Regions from separate parts of the Homo sapiens genome. Here all the other regions are linked to region 3. Evidence: promoter capture Hi-C in human tissues and cell types (Jung and others, 2019). All regions are on one chromosome and are shown on one strand. Each heading gives the region's core, a stretch centred on a gene start or on the middle of the fragment in contact. The rest is flanking DNA. Distances are from core to core; before and after follow the strand shown.

Region 1 (3,364 bases), core at 705-3,204, 640 kb after region 3:
TGATTCAGAGTTATCCCCTTAATAGACGAGGACCTCTCAGACCCTAAATGGAAGAAGTTAGTGTGGCACTGAGTACACACACCAGGAAGTCTTGGACGATGGAGAGTGTTGGTGCTGCTCTTGAAGCTGTGCAGGAACCACCTTCATTTTTCCCTCTGCCAGTTCTGTCATGCTGCTGTCTCTTTGGTTAATATGCACGGTGCTGTTTTTTGTTTTTGTTTTTTGTTTCTCTCTCCAATTAAACTGTAAGCTTCTTGAGGATAGGCTCCAAGTCTTATGTTTTAAATCTTGAGGCCCTTTAAGTTAAATTAGAACCTGGCACGTGTTCTGTGGTTGACAATAATGGTCATATGGAGATCTAATCAAATCAAATGTTAGACAGTGGATGGCAGGTTTAATCAGAAATACACCAGAGAAGGGTAGGTATAGTGGCTTACACCTGTAATCCCAGCACTTTGGGAGTCTGAGGAGGGCAGATCACTTGAGTCAGGAGTTTGAGACTCACCTGGCCAACACAGTGAAACCGTGTCTCTACTGAAAATACGAAAATTACCCAGGTGTGGTGGTGGGCGCCTGTAATCCCAGCTACTTGGGAGGCTGAGGCAGGAGAATCACTTAAACCTGGGAGGTGGAGGTTGCAGTGAGCCGAGATCGCGCCACTGCACTCCAGCCTGGGTGACAAAACAAGACTCCATCTCAAAAACAAGAGGCCAGGCGCAGTGGCTCACGACCGTAATACCAGGACTTTGGGAGGCCTAGGTGGGCGGATCACCTAGGTCAGGAGTTCGAAACCAGCCTGGTTAACATGGTGAAACCCCATCTCTACTAAAAGTACAAAATTAGCCAGGCACAGTGGTGTGTGCCTGTAATCCCAGCTACTCGGGAGGCTGAAGCAGGAGAATCGCTTGAACCCAGGAGGCAGAGGTTGCAGTGAGCCAAGATCGCGCCACTGCACTCCACCTTGGGTAACAAGGGCGAAACTGTCACACACACACACACACACATACACACACACACACAAGAAGATAAAAGAAAAGAAATACACCAGAGAACAAAGAGAAAGCAGTGAAAATTATGGGCATTGTCCTATCAAAAGCATCACAATTATATGCCTATGCCTGTGTATTAAGGAGCAACTTAAATACACATGGAGGCCAGGCATAGTGGCTCATGCCTGTAATCCTAGCACTTTGGGAAGTTGAGGTGGGTGGATCACCTAAGGTCAAGAGTTCCAGGCCAGGCTGGCCAACAAGGTAAAACCCTATCTTTACTAAAAATATAAAAATTAGCTGGGCATGGTGGTGTGCACCTGTAATCCCAGCTACTCTGGAGGCTATGGCAGGAGACTTGCTTGAACCCAGGAGGTGGAGGTTGCAGTGAGCTGATATGATATCGCGCCACTGCACTCCAGCCTGGGCGACAGAGTGCGTAAGGCTCTGTCTCAAAGAAAAAAAAAAAAAAAAAGAAAGAAATATGGTCCCATCAAGAGGCACAATGTGGTTTCAGAAAAAGGAAGCCACTGAGGATTCCACATTATGTTATGGCAAGTCAGAATTGCGTATTCCATTTGTCCACTTTTCTGAATTCATTGACAAGAAAAATGCATAAAATACATTATAGGATATATTACATGAGTAGTAAATAGTAAAATGAAATAGAAAATACTTCCGGTGGTGGGCATGGTAGTTCATGCCTGTAATCCCAGCACTTTGGGAGTTTGAGACCAGCCTGGGCAACATAGTGACACCACATCTCTACAAAAAATACAAAATTGGCTGGGTGTGGTGGCTCACGCCTGTAATCCCAGCACTTTGGGAGGCTGAGGCGGGCGGATCACTTGAGGTCAGGAGTTCGAAATCAGCCTGGGCAACATGGTGAAACTCTGTCTCTACTAAAAATACAAAAAAAATTAGCCAGGCTTGGTGGTGCATGCCTGTAATCCCAGCTACTTGAGAGGCTGAGGCAGAACAATTGCTTGAACTCAGGAGGCGGAAGTTTCAGTGAGCAGAGATTGTGCCATTGCTGCTTTCCACCTGAGTGATAGAGCAAGACTCCATCTCAAAAAAAAAAAAAAAAAATTAGCTGGGCATGGTGGTGTGTACCTGTAGTCCCAGCTACTGGGAAGGCTGAGGTGGGAGGATGGCTTAAGACCAGGAGGCAGAGGTTTCGGTGAGCTGAGATTGTGCCACTGCACTCCAGCCTGGACAACAGAGTGACACTCTGTCTCCAAAACAAACAAAAAAAAGAAAATAAAATACTGAATACCGCTGGGCATGGTGGCTCACCCCTGTAATCTCAGCACTTTGGGAGGATGAGGTGTGGAAGTCAGGTGGCCTCACTTGAGGTCAGGGGTTTTGAGATCGGCTTGGGACAACACAGGGACTCGAGCCCAGGAGGTTGAGGCTGCAGTGAGCTATGATCGTGCCAGTGCATTCCAGCCTGCCTGGGTGACAGAAGGAAAGACCTTGTCAAAAAAAAAAAAAAAAGGAAAGAAATGTAAAATAGTAAGACATATTATAGAAACTACCAACATTTACGCAAAGCATAAACCTTCACCCATGGAAACATATAAACTAAAAATATATCGGGCCAGGCACAGTGACTCATTTCTGTAAACCCAAGCCAGCCTTTGGAAGGCTGAGGCAGGAGGATCCCATGAGGCCAGGAGTTTGAGACTAGTCTGGGCAACATAGTGGGACCCCCATCTCTACAAAAAATTTAAAAATTAGCTAGGGGGCCGGGCGCAGTGGCTCACGCCTGTAGTCCCAGCCCTTTGGGTGGCCAAGGTGGGCGGATCACTTGAGGTTAAGAGATTGAGACCATCCTGGCCAACATGGTGAAATCCTGTCTCTACTGAAAATACAAAAATTAGCCAGGTGTGGTGGCGCACGCCTATAAACCCAGCTACTCAGGAGGCCGAGGCAGGAGAACCTCGTGAACCCCCAGGAAGCCCCAGGAAGCAGAGGCTGCAGTGAGCTGAGATTGCACTTCCGCACTCCAGCCTGGGTGATAGAGTGAGACTCCATCCCAAAAAATAAGAATTATAATAATAAAAAAATAAAATTTAAAAAAATGAAATAAATAGACAGATGGGTAAATCCTGTCATCAGCTCCAGTAATAAAGGAATGAGGTATAGATGTAGGGTCTCCCACATTTCTTCCACCAATAACATTATGCAGGAATAGAAAGTTAATGATATGAAGCTCACCAATAGGAAGATTATTTGATCAACAGTAAAAGTAGATCTAGAAATTATGACCAAATCGAACATGAACTCTAAGCTGTGGCAAATCAAGTATAATTGCAAAAAAAAAAAAAACCATGAAAATCTTACCTTAAACTCAGTCAATATTTTCTTGCAGT
Region 2 (3,512 bases), core at 517-3,016, 770 kb after region 3:
TTTTTAAATGTGGTAATTTTGTCATTTATAGCCTCAAGGCCCCTATCATGCCACCTATTTCTCTTGCTGATCACATGGCAGAGTGAAATGTTCTTACTGCATTTTTTCTTCATATTGGTAGATTTGGAGTTAAATGGGTTGGAGTCTGGGAATGGGGATGAGGAAGCAGTGGATCGAGAACCCCGACGCTTGAGCAGCAGGCGTTCTGTCCTCACTAGCCCTGTAGCGAATGGAGTCAACCTGGATTATGATGGACTGGGCAAAACCTGCCGAAGTCTTCCAAGTCTGAAGAAAACTTTGGCTGGGGACTCATCTTCTGACTGTAGCCGGGGCTCCCACAATGGACAAGTGTGGGATCCCCAGTGTGCTCCCCGAAAGGACAGGCAAGTGCATCTGACCCATTTTGAGCTTGAAGGCCTTCGCTGCCTTGTAGATAAGTTGGAGTCTCTGCCACTGCACAAGAAATGTGTCCCCACAGGGATAGAAGATGAAGATGCTCTCATTGCTGATGTAAAGGTAAGGGTTTGATGTGTTACATGACAGCTACTGATCCAGCTATGGCAGTCAGCTTCCAGATTCAGAGGGAGAAAATATAGGAATTTTGGGTGATCTCTGGTTCAGTCAGAGAGAAGTTAATATGCATGTGTGTTTGTTATTGCTGCTCAGTGTTTTCATTACTAGAATGAGGTTATGTCCCTGTTTTGAAAATACTAACATTTATGTGTTCATTGAAGACTTATAAATTTAGTCTTAAACATAGGTTTCAGGCTGACCCCAAAAATAAAGTGACCCAAAGAAAATATTTATATAAGAAATGTTACATTAAACTTAAGTTACCTTGAGATAAAACTCAGGACAAAAGTGACTGATAGGAGTCTCATCCTAAGCAGATTGAGAGAAATGAAATTGTTCTATGCTGGGTTAACGTTGAGTAGCTTTAGCCTCTTTAGATTCAAATTTATCTAGCATCAAGACTTAAATACATTGGGAAAAGCATCATTTTAAAATAATTCATCCCATTGCTTTATCAAGTTTTATGTTTATTTATTTTTTAATTATACTTTAAGTTCTAGGGTACATGTGCACAACGTGCAGGTTTATTACATAGACATACATGTGCCATGTCAGTTTGCTGCACCCATTGACTCGTCATTTATGTTAGGTATTTCTCCTAATGCTATCCCTCCTCCAGCTCCCCTTCATATTGTATATTTTTCTTAAGGAATCCAGACTTGAGCTTTTTTTTTTTTTTTTAATTTTAATTAATTAATTAATTTATTTGAGACGGAGTCTCACTCTGTCGCTCAGGTTGGAGTGCAATGGCAAGATCTCGGCTCACTGCAACCTCCACCTCCCGGGTTCAAGCAGTTCTCGTGCCTCAGCCTCCTGAGTAGCTGAGATTACAGACACGTGCCACCATGCCTGGCTAATTTTTTTATATTTTTGATAGAGATGGGGTTTCACCATGTTGGCCAGGCTGGTCTCGAACTCTTGACCTCAGGTGATCTGCCTGCCTCAGCCTCCCAAAGTGCTGGGATTACGGGCATGAGCCTCCACACCCAACCTTGAGCTATCTAAACTGGAGGAAATTATTTTAAGTCTTTCCTCCTAAGTAACAATTAATGTGAAGACCAAGAATTGTAAAGCTGGAAATAGCAATTTTATTTTTAAATCAGTGTTTGGAACAATGGGTATGTATATTAGAAAGCTAATCTACAAGTTGTAATGTTATTTTGAAAACCTCACATAGATTATTTTAAGCTACTTTTAAGCCATTTTATAAATTTAGGGGGGCCAGGCACAGTGGCTCACACCTGTAATCCTAGCACTTTGAGAGGCCAAGGTGGGAGGATCACCTGAGGTCAGGAGTTCGAGACCAGCCTGGCCAACATGGTGAAACCCCATCTCTACTAAAAATACAAAAAAAGGCTCAGTGCGATGTCTCATGCCTGTAATCCCAGCACTTTGGGAGGCCGAGGCAGGTAGATCACGAGGTCAGGAGTTCAAGATCAGCCTGGCCAAGATGGTAAAACCCCGTCTCTACTAAAAATACAAAAATTAGCTGGGTGTGGTGGCAGACACCTGTAATCCCAGCTACTCAGGAGGCTGAGGCAGGAGAATCCCTTGAACCTGGGAGGCAAAGGTTGCAGTGAGCCGAGATTGCGCCATTGCACTCCAGCCTGGGTGATGGAAGTGAAACCCTGTCTCAACAACAACAACAACAAATCCATTGGAGTAGTTTAACTAAAGTAGCTAAATAAGGAGATTTGAGGTGAAAGGGTGGTACAATGGTATACCAAAGGAAAAAGTAGAAAGATTTGGGTTAAATATTAAGCAGAGTCAGCAAGAAGAGAGGGGAGTTAAGAAGAGACATCTAAAGAGGAGGCTTAGCATTATGAAAAGTGTCCGGAGATAGCTTGCTTGTGTTTATCAGGGACCACTGAAAAACGTGACTGCCATCACTGGCTAAGATATAGTGGCAGAGGCCAGAGCATGAGGAACAAGTAGCCAGTGAGATGACTACACAGGCCGACAGTGTTTGAATTCTCCCTCCAGAGACTTGTCCACAGCTTCTCGTTTACCCAAAACCACAGTCAAAATGTAGCTGACGTCAGAAGACAACAGATTTAGATTCCAGCTCTGCAGGTGTAGTTTCACTTAAGATCAAATAGATTAATTATTCCTATATTTGATCAGTTATGCTAAATCTCAGAAAAGATATAGCAAGCTTAGAGCTTGAATACCTTGAGAATCTAAGCATCACTCAAAAGAAAAAAGCATTAGATTGGGTAGCTGCTGAATCACTGCACAGCTGGGGACTTTCAAGTGCTAGAAAACTTGGTGCTTATAGCACTGATGGCTATACTTCAGTGGGGGACAAAGCTAGTACAGTTTACCCTTCCTGCAGAGAAAGGAATTGTTTGCTGTTGTAACCTATCTGGCTTTCAGGAATAATTAGTAGAAGAGATGAGGGGAAAAGTGGTAGATGAGATATTCATAATATTCCAAGGAAAAATAGTGCATTTCAGTGCTGTGATAAAAGGGCTTTTTTTAGGTTCTAAGGCGTTGAAGAACAAGTCATAGAATATAGAGTTGGAAGAGGATTAAGTGAAAAAATAGGACATTAAAAAGTACTGACTTGGGCTGAGCCCAGTGGCTCACACCTCTTGTCCTAGTGCTTTAGGCGGCAGACGCAGGCAGATCTCTTGAGACCAGCCTGGGCAACGTGGCGAAACCTCACCTCCACAAAAATACAAAATTATCCAGGTGTGGTGGTGTGTGTTTGTGATCCCAGCTACGTGGAAGGCTGAAGTGGGAGGATCACTTGAGCTGGGCAAGTTGAGGCTTCACTGAGCTGTGATCTCACCACTGCACTCCAGTCTGGGCAAAAGAGTGAGACCTTGTCTCAAAAAGAAAGTAGGCCGGGCATGGTGGCTCATGCCTGTAGTCCCAGCACTTTGGGAAGCTGAGGCGGGCGGATCATGAGGTCAGGAGATCAAGACCATCCTTGC
Region 3 (3,276 bases), core at 292-2,791:
CCAGCACAATGGACGCCTCTGGTGGCATCAGTGAGGGCAGCTATCCTGTGTCACAGGGTTTGTGTGACCTGCAGCCAGCAGCCCAGCGGTCTGGTGGTGTCCTGCTTGGTGGAAGTCTCGCAGGGAGATTCTCTGTGACTAACGAGTGTCTTTTCCCCTAAAGGATGTGCCGTCGGCTGCTTTCTTGTTTCATCTAGCCGCTGGGCCCCAGAACAGTTGGCAAAGCAGTTGGTATCTTTGGCTATTTTTAGGTGGAGGAGTTAGCGGGGTGGATATAGTAGGGCCCCAGGGGAGTCTGGTAGATGGGGAACTTCAGGTGCAACAAGTTTGTGGGGGTGGGAGTGGCAGCGGCTCCCTCTCAGGAATGTTTAGGCAAACTAAACATGCATCCTTCATAATGGAAGTCAAAAGCCACCTCCTCTGTGCAGTCTTCCTTGATTTTCTCATTAAACACCCCCACCGCCCCCCACAAGACCAAAGACTTGATCTGGAACTATAATCCAGCCTTTATAGTTCCAGACCAAGAGTACTGAGCAATAGGGACCTTACCTGATGCAGACAAGGTTTCTCTTCTGCACCTCTGAGGCTCCATCCCTAGTCAGAACGACAAGGTACGAAGTTAGGAGTTGAGACTGAAGCCACTCATACAGCTGAGATTCTCTCTTGGCCCGTTTCTAGCAAACTACAACAAGCAAGTCACTTTTGTAAATCTATTTCCTCATCTGTAAAATGGGCAACTATCGTGCCTGCCTCCCAGGATTAAAGTAAAGGGTTTAATTTGCTCAAAGCACAGCGCACAGCGCCTAACGTAGACTGATAGATCTCTCGCAAGCCCCAGGCCCAGAAGGGGCGGTGCTCCCCCAAAACTCTCTTTCCTTTGCAGCACAGCGGGGGGTGTGTGCATCCTGGCGGAGGGGAGGGGACTGAGGGGAGGGGAATGGGGGGTGCCCGAGCTGGGCTGGAAGACAGGTCTGCGACTCTGGTCAACTGCAGCTGCTTTCCCCGGCCTCCACCGCTGCCGCACACCCCCTTTGCCTTTAGCATTTTCCTCCTCTCCTCTAATTGCGTGGCGTCCCCAGATGGTAGGCGGGGTGTCGGAGCTGGGGGTGCGTAGTCCCGGGCCTAAGGCTAGGGAAGGGGCCTCCAGCGCCGTGTGAGGGCCCTGACCGACAGTGGGGAGGGGCGCCCATGTCTCTGGGAGAACCCCGGAGTCCCCGGAAATGGAGGCGGAGTTTGGGGAGTCTGAAATGGGGGAGGGGTCGTGTAGACTACGGGGGAGTCCTGAGCCGGCTAGGAGGGGCAAGGGAGTCCCTCAGACGGAGTGGAGAGCGGGGCTTCCCTGGTCAGAGGGCGGTACCAGGGGAAGGGCGTGGTCTCCTGCGAAGGGGCGGAGCTCCGCCTACGAAGGCTGAGCATCGCCGCAAGAGGCGGAGTCTGGAGCGAGGCGGAGCTCTCCTAGGGGCGGGGAAAATGGGGCGGGGCCTCCGGACAGGGGGCGGAGCGTGGCTGTTCGCGCTCATCCCCCTCCCCCGGCCCTGGGTGTCCCCGTGACGAGGCAGCGCGGAGCCGCCGCGGGCCGGGCCCATCCCGCCGCAGCGGCCCGGGGCCGAGCAGGGGCTAGGCGGGGAGGGAGCGGCGCCCAGCGGGGCCCGGAGCGTGGCCAGGTGAGGCCGCCGGGGCGGAGGGGGCGGGGGCTGCGCCAGGCGGGCCCCGGCGGGCGCGGGGGGCGTGTTTGCGTGTCTGGGGGTGGTGGAGGGAGTGGGTCCGAGGGCGGGCGCCGGTGGCTGCTGCGCGCCCGCGCGTCCCTGCGGTCGCGGGTGCGGGTGGTCTCTGCGCCGTCCGGGCCCGGGGCGTGCGGGGCCGTGCACGCGCGCGTGTTGTGCGGAGGGGCCGCCGGGTGTGGACCTGCGTAGGTGCTGGGCCGCGGTTCCCGTTCTGCCCGCCCGGGGCGCAGGGCGCGGGCCTGCCCCGGCGCGGTCCCTCTGGCGCGGGGATGTTTTCCAAACGGGCTGCCTGCGGGAGACGGCTGTGCTGCAGCCCGAGCTCGAGGGGGGAGCGCCGCCTCCGCAGGCCTCCTGAGACCCGGGCGGCTGGGGACGCAGACAGACACCTGAGGGAGGGAAGAGCGCGCACCCAGGAGGAGTCTATTGGCCTACCCGCAGGGGGAGGCCGAGATGGGGAGACTGAGGCAGATGGTGAGGCGGAGGCGGGCAGACAGGCAGAGATGGGGAATGGGGGGAGAGAGACGGCAAAAAGGACAGCGGCTGGGAGGACAGAGAGTCATTGAGAAAGCAGATGGACAGACAGAGGCCTAGACCTCAAAGGGGCAAGAAAGATTCAGATGGACAGGTAGATTCAAAGAACCTGTCAGAGAGGCTAAATCAGAGGTCCAGAGGCTAAGAGCTATAAGCAGGAACTGAGTCTGAGATGAGGGGTAACGGCCCCCAACTCATTGGGTGCCCCGCTTTGAAGCACATCCCAGACTGGGATCTTGGCCAAAAAGCAGCCTCTGGCCACCCCAAGTTGGTCCATCTCTTTGGCACCACTGAATATCCTGACTCTCTTCACTGTGCCACCCCTCCCTGGTATCCCAGCAACCTCGGGCAGTTTAGAGGAGGCAGAGGGGAAGTGGTTGCCATAGCAGTAGAGGCGGTGAAAGGTCACCCTTGCCTTAGCCTAGGCGGCCCTGCAGCAGGCTGCAGCTGGAATTGAGCCGGGCTGGGGTGGGAACCTACAAAGCTCTTTTCTCTCCCACTCTGCCCAGAATGGTGCTGGAAGGAAACCCTGAAGTGGGGTCCCCCCGAACCTCAGACCTCCAGCACCGGGGGAACAAGGGCTCTTGCGTTCTCTCCTCTCCCGGTGAAGATGCGCAGCCAGGCGAGGAGCCCATCAAGTATGGTGAACTCATCGTCCTGGGGTGAGCATCCCTGGCCTAGAAGGGGTGAAGCACCAGACACCCACCCAACGCAGCCAGAACAAGGGCCCGACCCCTCCTCCCCCCACATAGGGCCTTCAGCTGTTTGTCCCTCCTCACCTTCCTAGCTGAAAGACAAAATTGACCAAACCCACCTCAATTCATAATTATTATTTTATCTTCCCATTTTTCACAAAGTACTGTGACAACTCTAACCACCCAACTTCCTGATCAGATGAGAAAAATGTTAACACCAGCTGCCTTTCCTAAAGCACCTAGTGTGTGTGGTGTGGGGTGAAGAACTCTGGTTCTCCAGCAAAACTGCTTGGTTCAAATCCTGCCTCTGCAAGTTGCTGAACTTC

Evidence for each region. The method cuts DNA at HindIII sites, captures the fragments that hold promoters and counts their contacts. A contact is called where the count stands out against the background at its distance.
Region 1: a contact is called between a fragment that was not itself captured here and the fragment with the promoter of PELI3 in region 3, in 1 of the 25 tissues and cell types used here (dorsolateral prefrontal cortex).
Region 2: a fragment that was not itself captured here is called in contact with the fragment with the promoter of PELI3 in region 3 in 1 of the 25 tissues and cell types used here (hippocampus).

Annotation. Positions count from the first base shown.
Region 1 is chr11:67,106,496-67,109,859 of GRCh38, forward strand. No RefSeq gene overlaps it. Among named protein-coding and RNA genes, the nearest start is that of KDM2A, 11 kb to the right of the region's middle. The HindIII fragment of the contact is 4,720 bases long and covers 1-3,364 here.
Region 2 is chr11:67,231,445-67,234,956 of GRCh38, forward strand. It overlaps KDM2A (lysine demethylase 2A), which reads left to right. Exons shown (of 21, transcript NM_012308.3): 12 at 122-516. Among named protein-coding and RNA genes, the nearest start is that of GRK2, 33 kb to the right of the region's middle. The HindIII fragment of the contact is 4,272 bases long and covers 1-3,512 here.
Region 3 is chr11:66,465,364-66,468,639 of GRCh38, forward strand. It overlaps PELI3 (pellino E3 ubiquitin protein ligase family member 3), which reads left to right and starts at 1,542. Exons shown (of 8, transcript NM_145065.3): 1 at 1,542-1,664; 2 at 2,765-2,917. The coding sequence starts at 2,766. RefSeq lists enhancers at 1-8, 9-508 and silencers at 1,460-1,669, 1,680-2,029. The HindIII fragment of the contact is 25,810 bases long and covers 1-3,276 here.